2 separate regions of the Homo sapiens genome follow, and region 1 is linked to region 2. The links are contacts of gene promoters, found by promoter capture Hi-C in human tissues and cell types (Jung and others, 2019). All regions are on one chromosome and are shown on one strand. The core of a region is centred on a gene start or on the middle of the fragment in contact, and the rest is flanking DNA. Distances in the headings are between cores, read along the strand shown. Region 1 overlaps LOC105375336 (a long non-coding RNA gene). Region 2 holds the start of VKORC1L1 (vitamin K epoxide reductase complex subunit 1L1).

The links. The method cuts DNA at HindIII sites, captures the fragments that hold promoters and counts their contacts. A contact is called where the count stands out against the background at its distance.
Region 1: a contact is called between a fragment that was not itself captured here and the fragment with the promoter of VKORC1L1 in region 2, in 1 of the 25 tissues and cell types used here (liver).

What each region holds. Positions count from the first base shown.
Region 1 is chr7:66,027,829-66,033,764 of GRCh38, reverse strand. LOC105375336 (a long non-coding RNA gene) reads left to right here. Exons shown (of 5, transcript XR_002956511.2): 3 at 2,229-2,265. It also overlaps the pseudogene LOC100419772. Among named protein-coding and RNA genes, the nearest start is that of ASL, 45 kb to the left of the region's middle. The HindIII fragment of the contact is 3,671 bases long and covers 1,383-5,053 here.
Region 2 is chr7:65,871,201-65,876,946 of GRCh38, reverse strand. It overlaps VKORC1L1 (vitamin K epoxide reductase complex subunit 1L1), which reads right to left and starts at 3,873. Exons shown (of 3, transcript NM_173517.6): 1 at 3,382-3,873. The coding sequence starts at 3,575. RefSeq lists enhancers at 2,372-2,923, 3,475-4,026 and silencers at 3,092-3,161, 3,709-3,888, 3,602-4,101, 4,122-4,181. The HindIII fragment of the contact is 24,487 bases long and covers 1-5,746 here.

The DNA of each region.
Region 1 (5,936 bases), core at 1,969-4,468, 160 kb before region 2:
AGCTTGAATCACTGGTAGCATTTGGTAAGCTTCACAGAGCTGATTTGATTACAGTGCTGACATCACTGTGCTGATGACCTAAGGCCTAGGTTGAGCCCTGTGTGAACCACTGTTGGTTTTGCTTTATTTATTGACTGGGAAATCAACTATCTGTTTGGCCCATGCTTTTGAAATCTTGGGTCATCATTTGCATCATCTCACTGCACTCCTGGTTTAAGACATACAGGGGTCTCTGTTGCACAATATGTCAAGCACAGACCCCTCTACCTGATTTTTCAGGATTCTGCATTACCAGTTTCCATTCATCCAGTCCAGTCTCATTTCCCACAACTCCATAGTTGCCTTCCACTTTATTTAGACTTCTTACTGTGTGACCTTGAGCAAGTTATTTAATTTCTGAACCTTGGCTTCCTGTCTATAGAGTAGGAATCATACGAATAGCTTCTACATCATAGGGTTTTTAATGACAATTAACTGAGATAATATCTTTTAAAAATAATAACCTTCCATTATGGAGATGTTAATACAAGTACCAAGAACTGTGCTAAACTTTTAAAATTTGTTGTCTCACTTCATCATAACAGTTTGATGAGGTAGGAGGAGCTGGTGGTAGTGGTAGTTGCACAGGTAGTAGTAATGATAACGTTGGTGCTTATTGAGCACTTAATATGTTCCGGGTATTTTACATGTTTCCAGTGAACCCTGTGAACAGTCTTACAAGGTTGATACTATAATTGCCATTTGATAGATAGGAAATTTAAGCATAATGAGATTAAGTAACTTGCCCAGATTCACATAGCCAAAGAATGCAAGAGCTGGATTGAAATCCAGGCCACACTTTTAGATACTAGTTTCATCCCATTTTTAGTTTAGAAGGAAAACTTAGGGAGTAATTAACTAAAACTCTCACAGCATATAAATGGCAGAGCTAGAATGTGAACCCAAATCTGATTTCAAAACTATATTCTTTGTCATACTCCACTGCCTGCAGACTGCTGAAAACAATGCTTTCTGATATGCTATTGTAGAGTGGATCGATTGTGATTTAATATACATCACATTGTTGTTTCTTCACTCAGGAAAGATGGCATATTGCCTGGATTAACTGTTACACAGGGAACCAGGCTTTTGGCCACTGCTTGCCACCCTGACTGTACCTGTTGAGTTGACGTAGGTGGTGAACACCCTGGGAGCATGGTGGATATTTGGCAGGATACTTGCCCATGGCTGGAATTCCCAGTGGTGACATTGGTGTTAAGTGGGCCATTTCTGTTGATTCAGCAGGAGGACGTGGCTGCCCAAGATGTCAATAGCTGATGGGAGGCAGATAATAATGGGGAGAGGACATGGCTGTTGGATGGGACAGCACTTTGTTCCCAAGTCTGCTCTGAAATTGCCCACAGCTAGCTAAACCATGTTGGACTTAAGACATTTCTCAGTTTCAGTTTTAGGTGGTAGTCCCCAAATTCTAAAAGCGGACTACTACATCTTGACAGGAATTCTTTTTTTTTTTTTTTTTTTTTGAGACAGAGTCTCTCTGTGTTGCCCAGGCTGGAGTGCAGTGTCGCGATCTCGGCTCACTGCAAGCTCTGCCTCCCCGGTTCATGCCATTCTCCTGCCTCAGCCTCCCGAGTAGCTGGGACTACAGGCACCTGCCACCACGCCCGGCTGATTTTTTTTTGTATTTTATTGATTGATTGATTGATTGATTGTAGAAACGGGGTTTCACCATGATAGCCAGGATGGTCTTGATTTCCTGACCTCATGATCCGCCTGCTTCGGCCTCCCAAAGTGCTGGGATTACAGGTGTGAGCCACCGTGCCTGGCCCCCAACTTGACAGGAATTATTATTATTATTATTATTATTATTAAGACGGAGTCTCGCTCTGTCGCCCAGGCTGGAGTGCAGTGGCGTGATCTTTGCTCACTGCAAACTCCGCCTCCTGGGTTTATGCCATCCTCCTGCCTCAGCCTCCTGAGTAGCTGGGACTACAGGCGCCCGCCACCACACCTGGCTAATTTTTTGCATTTTAGTAGAGACGGGGTTTCACTGTGTTAGCCAGGATGGTCTCAATCTCCTGACCATGTGATTCGCCCGTCTTGGCCTCCCAAAGTGCTGGGATTACAGGTGTGAGCCACAGCGCCCGGCAGATGGGAATTCTTTTACAGATATTTGATACCCAGAAAGGGGTGTGAGCCCAGACTGATAACTTACTTTTCTTTTTCAGGAAGGATGTCGATTCTGCGCTTCTCAGTAACTACGTGGTAAATTGAACTGTTACATTTTCCTCTCTGATAATTTGCCCTTTGCTTGTAAGATTGTTGAATTGATTTTGGTTAGAAATGACTGAATTCAGACTAGGTGCAATGGCTCACGCCTATAATCCCAGCACTTTGGGAGGCTGAGGCAGATGGATCACTTGAGGTCAGGAGTTCGAAACCAGGCTGGTCAACATGGTGTAACCCCATCTTTACTAAAAATACAAAAATTAGCCAGCTGTGGTGGCACGTGCCTGTAGTCCCAGCTCCTTGGGATCCCAACTGAGGTAGGAGGATCACTTGAACCTGGGAGGGGGAGGTTGCAATGAGCCAAGATCACGCCACTGCACTCCAGCCTGGGCAATAGAGCCAGGCTCTGTCTCCAAAAAAAAAAAAAAAAAAAAGGATGTAGTTGAATTTTCCACTTCAAAACAAGACATGTGGCACCATCTAGTGGACCTTGGAATAGTCTAAGCTTTATATGTTATACGTATACGTAGTACTTCAGGGAAGCTGGGAAGACTCTAATTCAGAGCAGGCAAATTTCAGTAAATCTCAAAGATTCTAGATAATCATTTGGGATGTAGTCATAGGATAGAAGCATCTATTTTAGAGCTGTTTCTGCAAAATTTCCCATTGAAATATTTATGCTTTTTCCTAATTATCACCCTTGATATATTTATATATTTATAATGCTTTTATACATTGTTATTTTAATCTTCAAATAGTCTTTTGGGTATTAACATTGTTATTTTGAAAGTGAGTTTAGTTGACTCACCTTTCTGAATAGTAGAAATTAACAAATTTATAATTTTTGGGGCCTAGGGTGGGGTTCCCAGGGAAAGGAAAAGAAGGAAAAAGATTGGTAAGACGGAAGATATTCCAGCATTTTTGCCTCCTATTTGGCACTAGCAAAACCATCTGATAGGCTCACTCCAGGTGTAGAAAGAACCATTTATACCTTGACTGTGAATTTTCCATGTGCTAGAGTCTAAACTCAGGAAGACTCAGAGGAGGTCTAGAAGGTAGTAGCTTAAGTGCTGTGGCTCATGCCTGTAATCTCAGCACTTTGGAAGGCCAAGGAGAGAAGACTGCTTGAGGCTATGAGTTAGAGATCAGCCTGGGAAACCTAGCAAGACCCCCAGCTCTTAAAAAAATAAATTAGCTGGGCATGGTAGCAAACACCTACTATGGTCCTAGCTACTTGGAAGGCAGAGGGGAGGTTTGCTTCAGCCCAGGAGTTTGAGGTTACAGTGATGACCACTGTACTCTAGCCTGGGAGACAGCCTTTGGGACCCTGTCCCCTAAAAAAAGCTCCCAGAGTGGAAGACAGCAAAAAGAAAGAAACCGCCTCCCTTCCACATCCCCCCAAAAGAAAAGAAGGTAGTAGAATAAACAGAGTTGGCCATATTCTTTCCTCTCTAAAGGCTCAGTCTCAAGTGGTTGCAGCTTAGAACAGGAAGGAAATGGTTGAATGGTTTTTGGCCAAGCCTTTGGCTTTTAGGAGCCTCCTTGTCCAGTTTGGACTTTGCTAGGCGTTTGGGTGTTTTATCCATTGGGGAAACATTGCATTCATTGATCTCATGCCACTATTTCTGAAAGGAACAGCAGATGAGAGGGGTCGCATTGTATTTAGTGATGGTGTGTGAGCCTGCATTTTCTTCACTTCTGTGGTAGAATCTCTAAAACAGGAATGAGACTGAGATTCCCCCCTGCCTCCAGCACTCTAATGCATGCATGTTTTATCCTTGTGGGGAAAGTTTGCTTCTAAAAATCCATAGCATTTTTTCCTCCCCTTTTTTTGGTAAACTCTGTCTTATCACTTGCTTCAAAATTTTTCTTTTCCAGAAAGAAATTATTATGTTAGATTTTTTTTTTTTTTTTTTTTTTGAGATTGAGTCTCACTCTGTCGCCCAGGCTGGAGTGCAGTGGCATGATCTCGCCTCACTGCAAGCTCCACCTCCCGGGCTCATGCCATTCTTCTGCCTCAGCCTCCCGGGTAGCTGGGACTACAGGCGCCCGCCACCACGCCCGGCTAATTTTTTTTGTATTTTTAGTAGAGATGGGGTTTCACCGTGTTAGCCAGGATGGTGTCGATCTCCTGACCTCGTGATCCGCCTGCCTTGGCCTCCCAAAGTGCTGGGATTAAAGGTGTGCACCACTGCACCTGGCCTATGTTAGATTTTTATACTAGAGAAGCAGAATTCTTTTTTAACAAAATATTTGTTTTAAGAAAATTTGCTTTCAAATAGTATATTTTTGAGATCAGAGGAGATTAGTGATGTGTATATTCATAGGAAATGTTTGAAATTGTTTTTTTTTTTTTGAGATGGAGTCTTGCTCTGTTGCCCAGGCTGGAGTGCAGTGGCGTGATCTCAGCAACCTGCAACCTCTGCCTCCCAGGTTCACGCCATTCTCTTGCCTCAGCCTCAAGAGTAGCTGGGACTACAGGTGCCTGCCACCACGCCTGGCTAATTTTTTGTATTTTTAGTAGAGATGAGGTTTCACCATTTTAGCCAGGATGGTCTTGATCTCCTGACCTCATGATCCGCCCGCCTCAGCCTCCCAAAGTGCTGGGATTACAGGCATGAGGCACCGCACCTGGCCATATTTGAAATATTTTAGGTAAATTAATGAATTTGGATTATTTGGCTTATATAAAAGAGCATTTTTTTAATGTCATATGCCTCTGGGACTCATATTTGCTCAAATCCAAGAATTGGAAGCTGCGTAATGGGCGGGTGAAAGGAAGTACTACAGTTTCCTGTTTATCCTTCAAAACCACTGACCTTAGATAGATATATTTCTCAAATTTATTCATAAACTTCTTTTGTGTATCTTCTCCTGGGTGTTTCATTTACTAACTGATCTGAAAGAGCAGCGTAAAGAAAGTGGAAAGAATAAACACAGCTCTGGGCAACAGAACTTGAACACTATCACCTATGAAGTAAGGCTGGGCTTCTGCCAGGCCTACCTAAAGTACCATTGAGGGAGGGGGGTTTATTCTCCCAACGACTGGCTGCTGAAATCAAGATCGCCTTTTATCTGATTTGAATACTTTTACTGTAACCTGATTTTTATTCTGTTTATAAAAGTGGGAGGAGTTTGGTCAAGTGTAGTGTTTAGCCAGCTACAAAGTTAGAAGGAATAGTCTAAAAGATTGCTCTCACTTCTCCTTGAAAGGGAATCACTGCTCACTGCAGCCTCAACCTCCCAGGCTCAAGTGGTGCTCCGAGCTCAGCTTCCCAAGTAGCTGGGAATATGGGTATGCACTGCCATGCCTGGCTAATTTTTTTGTTGTTGTCCAGGGTGGTCTTGAATCCCTGGGCTCAAGGGATCTTCTCACCGCATCTTTCCAAAGTGCTGGGGACTTAGACACTTAAGGCTATTGTTTATTTTTCAAGTTTCAGATTCTTCCCAAAATATGTAATTATAATTCCTCTCAAATTATATCTGTATTCTTCTTCAAAAGCCACAAATTCTGTGTAATCATGAGAAAATATCAGACCATTGCAAATCAATTTTAAAAAAACACCTTTTATTTTGAAATCATTTTTCTTTTTTTTTTTTGGAGATGGAGTCTCCCTCTTGTTGCCCAGGCTGGAGTGCAATAGCACGATCTTGGCTCACCACAACCTCCGCCTACCAGGTTTAAGTGATTGTCCCGCCTCAGACTC
Region 2 (5,746 bases), core at 2,624-5,123:
AGCCTCCCAAGAAGCTGGAAATACAGGCATGCGCCACCATGCCCGGTTAACGTTTGTATTTTTTGTAAAGACACGGTTTTGCCCTGTTGCCCAGGCTGGTCTGAAACTCCTGAGCTCAAGAGGTCTGCCAGGTGTCAGCGTCCCAAACTGCTGGGATTACAGGTGTGAGCCACTGCACCAGGCCCTAAGTAGGTGTTAAAAGCCCTATTTAACATAAGAAACTGAGGCACCATGAAGATAAGGCCACAAGCCTAAGAACTGGGAGAGGTGGAAGCCCACCCAGATCCCTTAGATTTGAGCTCAGTGTACCAAACCAAGGGGGCAGGGACTGCTAACTGAATGTTAGCTGGCAGGCTGGTGCAGGTTTGCAGCAGAGTTTTCACCGATTTATGGGAAAATGGGAAAAAGTAAGGACACGAAAGTAAACTTTTTTTTTTTTTTTTTAAAGACAGAGTCTCGTTCTGTCACACAGGCTGGAGTGCAATGGCGCGATCTTGGCTTACTGCAACCTCTGCATCCCAGGTTCAAGTGATTCTCCTGCCTCAGCCTCCCGAGTAGCTGGGATTACAGGTGCATGCTACCACGCCCAGCTTGTTTTGTATTTTTAGTAGAGACGGGGTTTCAGCATGTTGGCCAGGCTGGTCTGAAAGTAAACTTTTCCATATAGCTAAATGATTCCATTTAAAAATATTTTATTCTGAGAGATTCTGTTCTTTCAAATTGTTTGAATGGAAATATCCTTTTGTTAAATGAAATGATGGTGACAGGAGATAGTGGTGTGTTATTGTTTTTACTGGCTGTACATGGTAGAATTGAAAAATCAGCATTTCTATTGTAGCCTACTAATTTCGGTGAAATATTTCTTTAGAAATATAAAATCTGGAACTTTCCATCATTATGCCTCCCCAAAATAATAGAGGACTTTACACACAGATAACACCTGCCTCTCAAGATTCTCTCATTAATCTCTACCTTACCGTGTTTGGATTAAGACACAGGGCTTGCGAAATGAGAATAAAGTGAGTTTGAGCAATCCAAAACCACGTGCTGACTCTGGATCCTGGAAGATGATTTTCTTCAGAATCTTTGTCTGTTAACTTTCCTCTGGGCTCAAACTTTCTTTTCCTAAAAGAGTCACATATTTGAGTACTACTGCTACATGGCAATCACCACTCAAAAAAAACTAACTTGAGGTGTCCAATAATCAGCTTTCATTTAAAGTCTGTTTCAGGCTAGGCGCGGTGGCTCACGTCTGTAATCCCAGCACTTTGGGAGGCCGAGGAGGGCGGATCACGAGGTCAGGAGATCGAGACCATCCTGGCTAACATGGTGAAACCCCGTCTCTACCAAAAATACAAAAAATTAGCAGGGCGTTGTGGCGGGCGCCTGTAGTCCCAGCTACTCAGGAGGCTGAGGCAGGAGAATGGAGTGAACCCGGGAGGTGGAGGTTGCAGTGAGTCGAGATCGCACCACTGCACTCCAGCCTGTGTGACAGAGCAAGACTCCGTCTCAGAAAAAAAAAGAAAAGTGTCTTTCAGCTTGACAAAATAAAAACTTTCAATGATGTTTTGTCTACACACTTCCAAAAGAAAATGAGTCTATATATGTACATATATGTGATTATATATGTATATATACATATGTGATTTTGATCAGCCTGCATATAAACTACCTGCAAAACAAGTTGATTTGTAAATTCATTTATTAAATGGGTAGTTTATAAGCTACTTGATTTTTGCAAGTAGTTTATAAACAGGCTGATCAAATTGAACAAATTTCTTAATTTCACTGTATACATGGCAAATAAGTTATCTACTCTTCTTATTAGCAAATCTTATTTTTACCTACCCTCCTTTGGCAAGCATCTAAGTTAAACTATTTTATGTCCACAGCTACACAATGAAACATCACTTTCAGTCACAACATATTAAATTCACATTTAAAACTATAAAGAGATCCAGTTACCTTTAGTCTTACATGTACTTATACATACTTTTAATATACTACTTGATGTTTTATGCACAAACATGCAGCTCTTGCAGGATATAACTATGAGAATATTTAGAGTGTATGCTAAATACACTTTTTTAAAGACAAGTCAATTTTTAAAAATTATTTATTTATATTTTATTTATTTATTTGAGATGGAGTCTCATTCTGTTGCCCAGGCTGGGGTGCAATGGTGTGGTCTTGGCTCACTGCAACCTCTGCCTCCCAGGTTCAAGCAATTCTCCTGCCTCAGCCTCCCGAGTAGCTGGGACTATAGGCACATGCCACCACACCCAGCTAATTTTTGTATTTTTGGTAGAGACGGGGTTTCACCATGTTGGCCAGGCTGGTCTTGAACTCCTGACCTCATGATCCACCCGCCTCGGCCTCCCAAAGTGCTGGGATTACAGGCGTGAGCCACTGTGCCCGGCCAAGAAAAGTCAATTTTAAGCACTTAAGCAGGCCAGGCGCGGTGGCTCATGCTTGATTCCCAGCACTTTGGAAGGCAGAGGTGGGTGGATTACCTGAGGTCAGGAGTTCGAGACCAGCCTGACCAATATGCTGGTCTCGAATATGCTAATAGGCAACAACGTTTAAAAGTCATTCCAATGCCTAAAACACCACCATATACATAACATACTTGTCCTTTACTCCAATGAAGCTTAAACTAGACCCAAACTCAGACCATTTCCTTCTCCTGGCACACTGAAACATACGAGAGGGAATCCAAGAAATCAGATATGTTAAGTGCGGGTATCTTCTTCCACAGTAGGGTCAAATTCGTGTTTGCCAGCAAATGTCACCGTCCCAGTTAAGTCTGCAAATTCTCACTAGCGCTGGAGTACAAAGAGGCCTGACCACGGAAACACCTGTCCTAGCACCAGGAAGACAGTGGGAAAGGCAACCCCCCTGTCTCCGCGCCGGCCCCAAAGCCTCGGCTGCAGCGATCGGGGGGACAAGAGGTTGCCGCTGGTCTCAAGGGTGCGGTGGACAAGGTCCCACACCCCCGGCCCGCCTCCCGAGAACCAGGAAACCTGTCAAGCCAGCCTGGACCCACCCTCCGCAGCCCCCTCGCGCTCCTGCACAGCCGGGCCCCAGCCCGCCCGACCGCTCCGCGTCCGCCCCGGCCTCCCGGCTGCACTCTGCCACCTCATCCCTCCCCGGCTGCCTCGCGGCCCCGCCACCTCCGCCCCGCGGCCTGGGCTCAGGCCGCCCCCCGGGCAGGAGCGCCCCGCCGCCGCCCCCCGCCTGGCCCCGACCCGACCCCGTCAGTTCCCCAGCGGCCCGGTCCCCGCCGCCCCCAGGCCTGAGCTCCCGCCGCGCGCTCCCCACCCCGAGACTCCACCCTCGCCCCGCTCGGCCGCTCCTGGCCCACTCCCCCAAGCCGGCTACCTGGAGGCAAGGGCGGCGGAGCACTTCACCCAGGGCCCCAGGTCGCAGAGGGCCCGGTGCTCGGGGTCCCGCTCCTTCTCCCGCTCCACGTGGTAGGCGTAGATGGAGAGCAGGATTCCGGCAGCGCACACTGCATACCGGGCCACCCGCTCCCACCGCGGCACCGACACTCTTAGCAGGACGGGAGCCGCCATCTTCCCGCCGCCGCCGCCGCCGCCTCCCTCCGCCTCCACCTCAGCCGCCGCCGCCCGTCGGGGCCCGACCCAGCCGCCACCGCCGCCACCGCCGCCTCCGCCGCCGCCGCCACCACCGCCGCCGCCGCCGCCGCGCCCCATTGGCTCGGTGGCCTGCTCCGGGCCCCGCCCCCACAGGCGCGCGGCCCAACCGCCCCAAAAGGAGTGAGGCGGACGGGGCGGGGAAGGCGCGCGCGGGCGCGGAGGGAGGGGGTGGAGTGCGCAACGGCCGAAGAGGCCGGATCGGCGGGCGGAGACTGAGGCGGCGTGGCGCTGCGCCGCGCGGCCGGTCGCGCGCGAGGGGTGGAGCCCGGGGGAGAAAGGGGTGGGGCAGGGGTGGGGATGGGCGGGGCAGGGGTGGGGAGGGGCGGAGCCAGAGAGGGGCGGGGCCGAGCGGGCCAGTGCGGGAGGGACTTAAAGGAGCGGTCTAACTAGCACATTGCAAGGATGCCACTGTGGGTGACTGGGCGAACCCTCGGCCCCTCCCTCTGGGGATGGCAATCAATTGCCATCCTTTTTCCCTTTTTCGTTGTATATTTCTGACCCAATCCAAATCAACCCTGGCCAATGCTTGGAGCTCCAGAGACCCACACCTATGACCTGATCTTCCCACCACCACCTTCGGTTAGACCTGTGCAAAACTTTTTTTTTAATGTGCAAAACTATGTTTTAAATTTAAAAACTATTTTTAAAAAATGATTTATGGACCGGGTACAGTGGCTTACACCCGTAATCCCAACACTTTGGGAGGCCGAGGCAGGTGGATCACTTGAGGTCAGGAGTTCGAGACCAGCCTGGCCTACATGGCGTAACCGCGTCTCTACTAAAAATACAAAAAACAAACAAAAACAAATTAGCCCGGTGTCGTGGTGGGCGCCTGTAATCCCAGCTACTCGGGAGACTGAGGCATGAGAATTGCCGGAACCCGGGAGGTGGAGGTTGCAGTGAGCCAAGATCGTGCCACTGCACTCCAGCCTGGGCGATAGAGTAAGAGTCTCAAAAAAAAAAAGAGAGATTTACGAATGCCTTGCTTTTCCGTAAGCTGAATTTGAAGTTGCTTACCATAACTCATATAATATAGAAAAATAAAGATGAGCTAATACAATCAGGACGAAGAAAAAGAAAAGTCAGAATAAAATGAAAGGCCAGGAATAAGAACACAGATAAGCAGGCCATAGGGGCTTACATAGTTATTAAAATTGCATCATAAATTTGGCTCTGAGCTTCCTGGTGGCCAAAACTAAAAGGAAAACAGATGTATGTGCTTTTTCTCACTGTCTTTAAGAAGAAACACAGGGTTCTTGGAGATTTTCAGTGTTTCCCTGGTTGCAGCTTTCAATTTTTCAGGGGCTTTATATAGTGATTTTGAATAATAAGCAATATCCTTGTATTCGTTATCTATTGTTGGGTAAAAATCACCCCAAATTTAGCAGTTAATAAACAATAAACTTTTTTTTCCCTCACAGTTTCCACGGGCTAGGAATCTGGGTGAGGTTAGCTGTGTCCTCTGGCTCAGGCTCTCATGAGGATACAATCAAGCTGTCAGCCAGGGCTGCAGCTCTCTCAAGGCTTCAGAATCCTCTTTCAAACTCACTTCCACTGCTGCTGGCAGGCCTGAGGTCCTCTCTGGCTGTTGGCTGGAGACATCATTTCCTGTCCACTTGCACCTCTTGGTAAGAAGCGGCAGGCTTACCCCAGGGAGAGGGAGGAGAAAGAGGAAGAGACAGAAAAAGAAAATGAGAGTGAGATCACAGTCCTTTTTTGAAACCTAATCCCAGAAGTGACATCCCATCACTTTTACGAAGTCTATTGCTACTTAGAAAATAGTCTCTAGGTCCAGCCAGTCATGGTGGCTCACACCTGTAATCCCAGAATTTTGGGAGGCCGAGGTGGGTAGAGCACCTGAGGTCAGGAGTTCGAGACCAGCTGACCAACATGGTGAAACCCCGTCTCTACTAAAAATACAAAAATTAGCCGGATGCGGTGGCACATGCCTGTAAACCCAGCTACTTGGGAAGCTGAGGCATGAGAATCACTTGAACCTGGGAGGTGGAGGTTGCAGTGAGCCAAGCTCACACCATTGCACTCCAGCCTGGCTTACAAGGAAAAACTCCATCTCAAAAAAAGAAGAA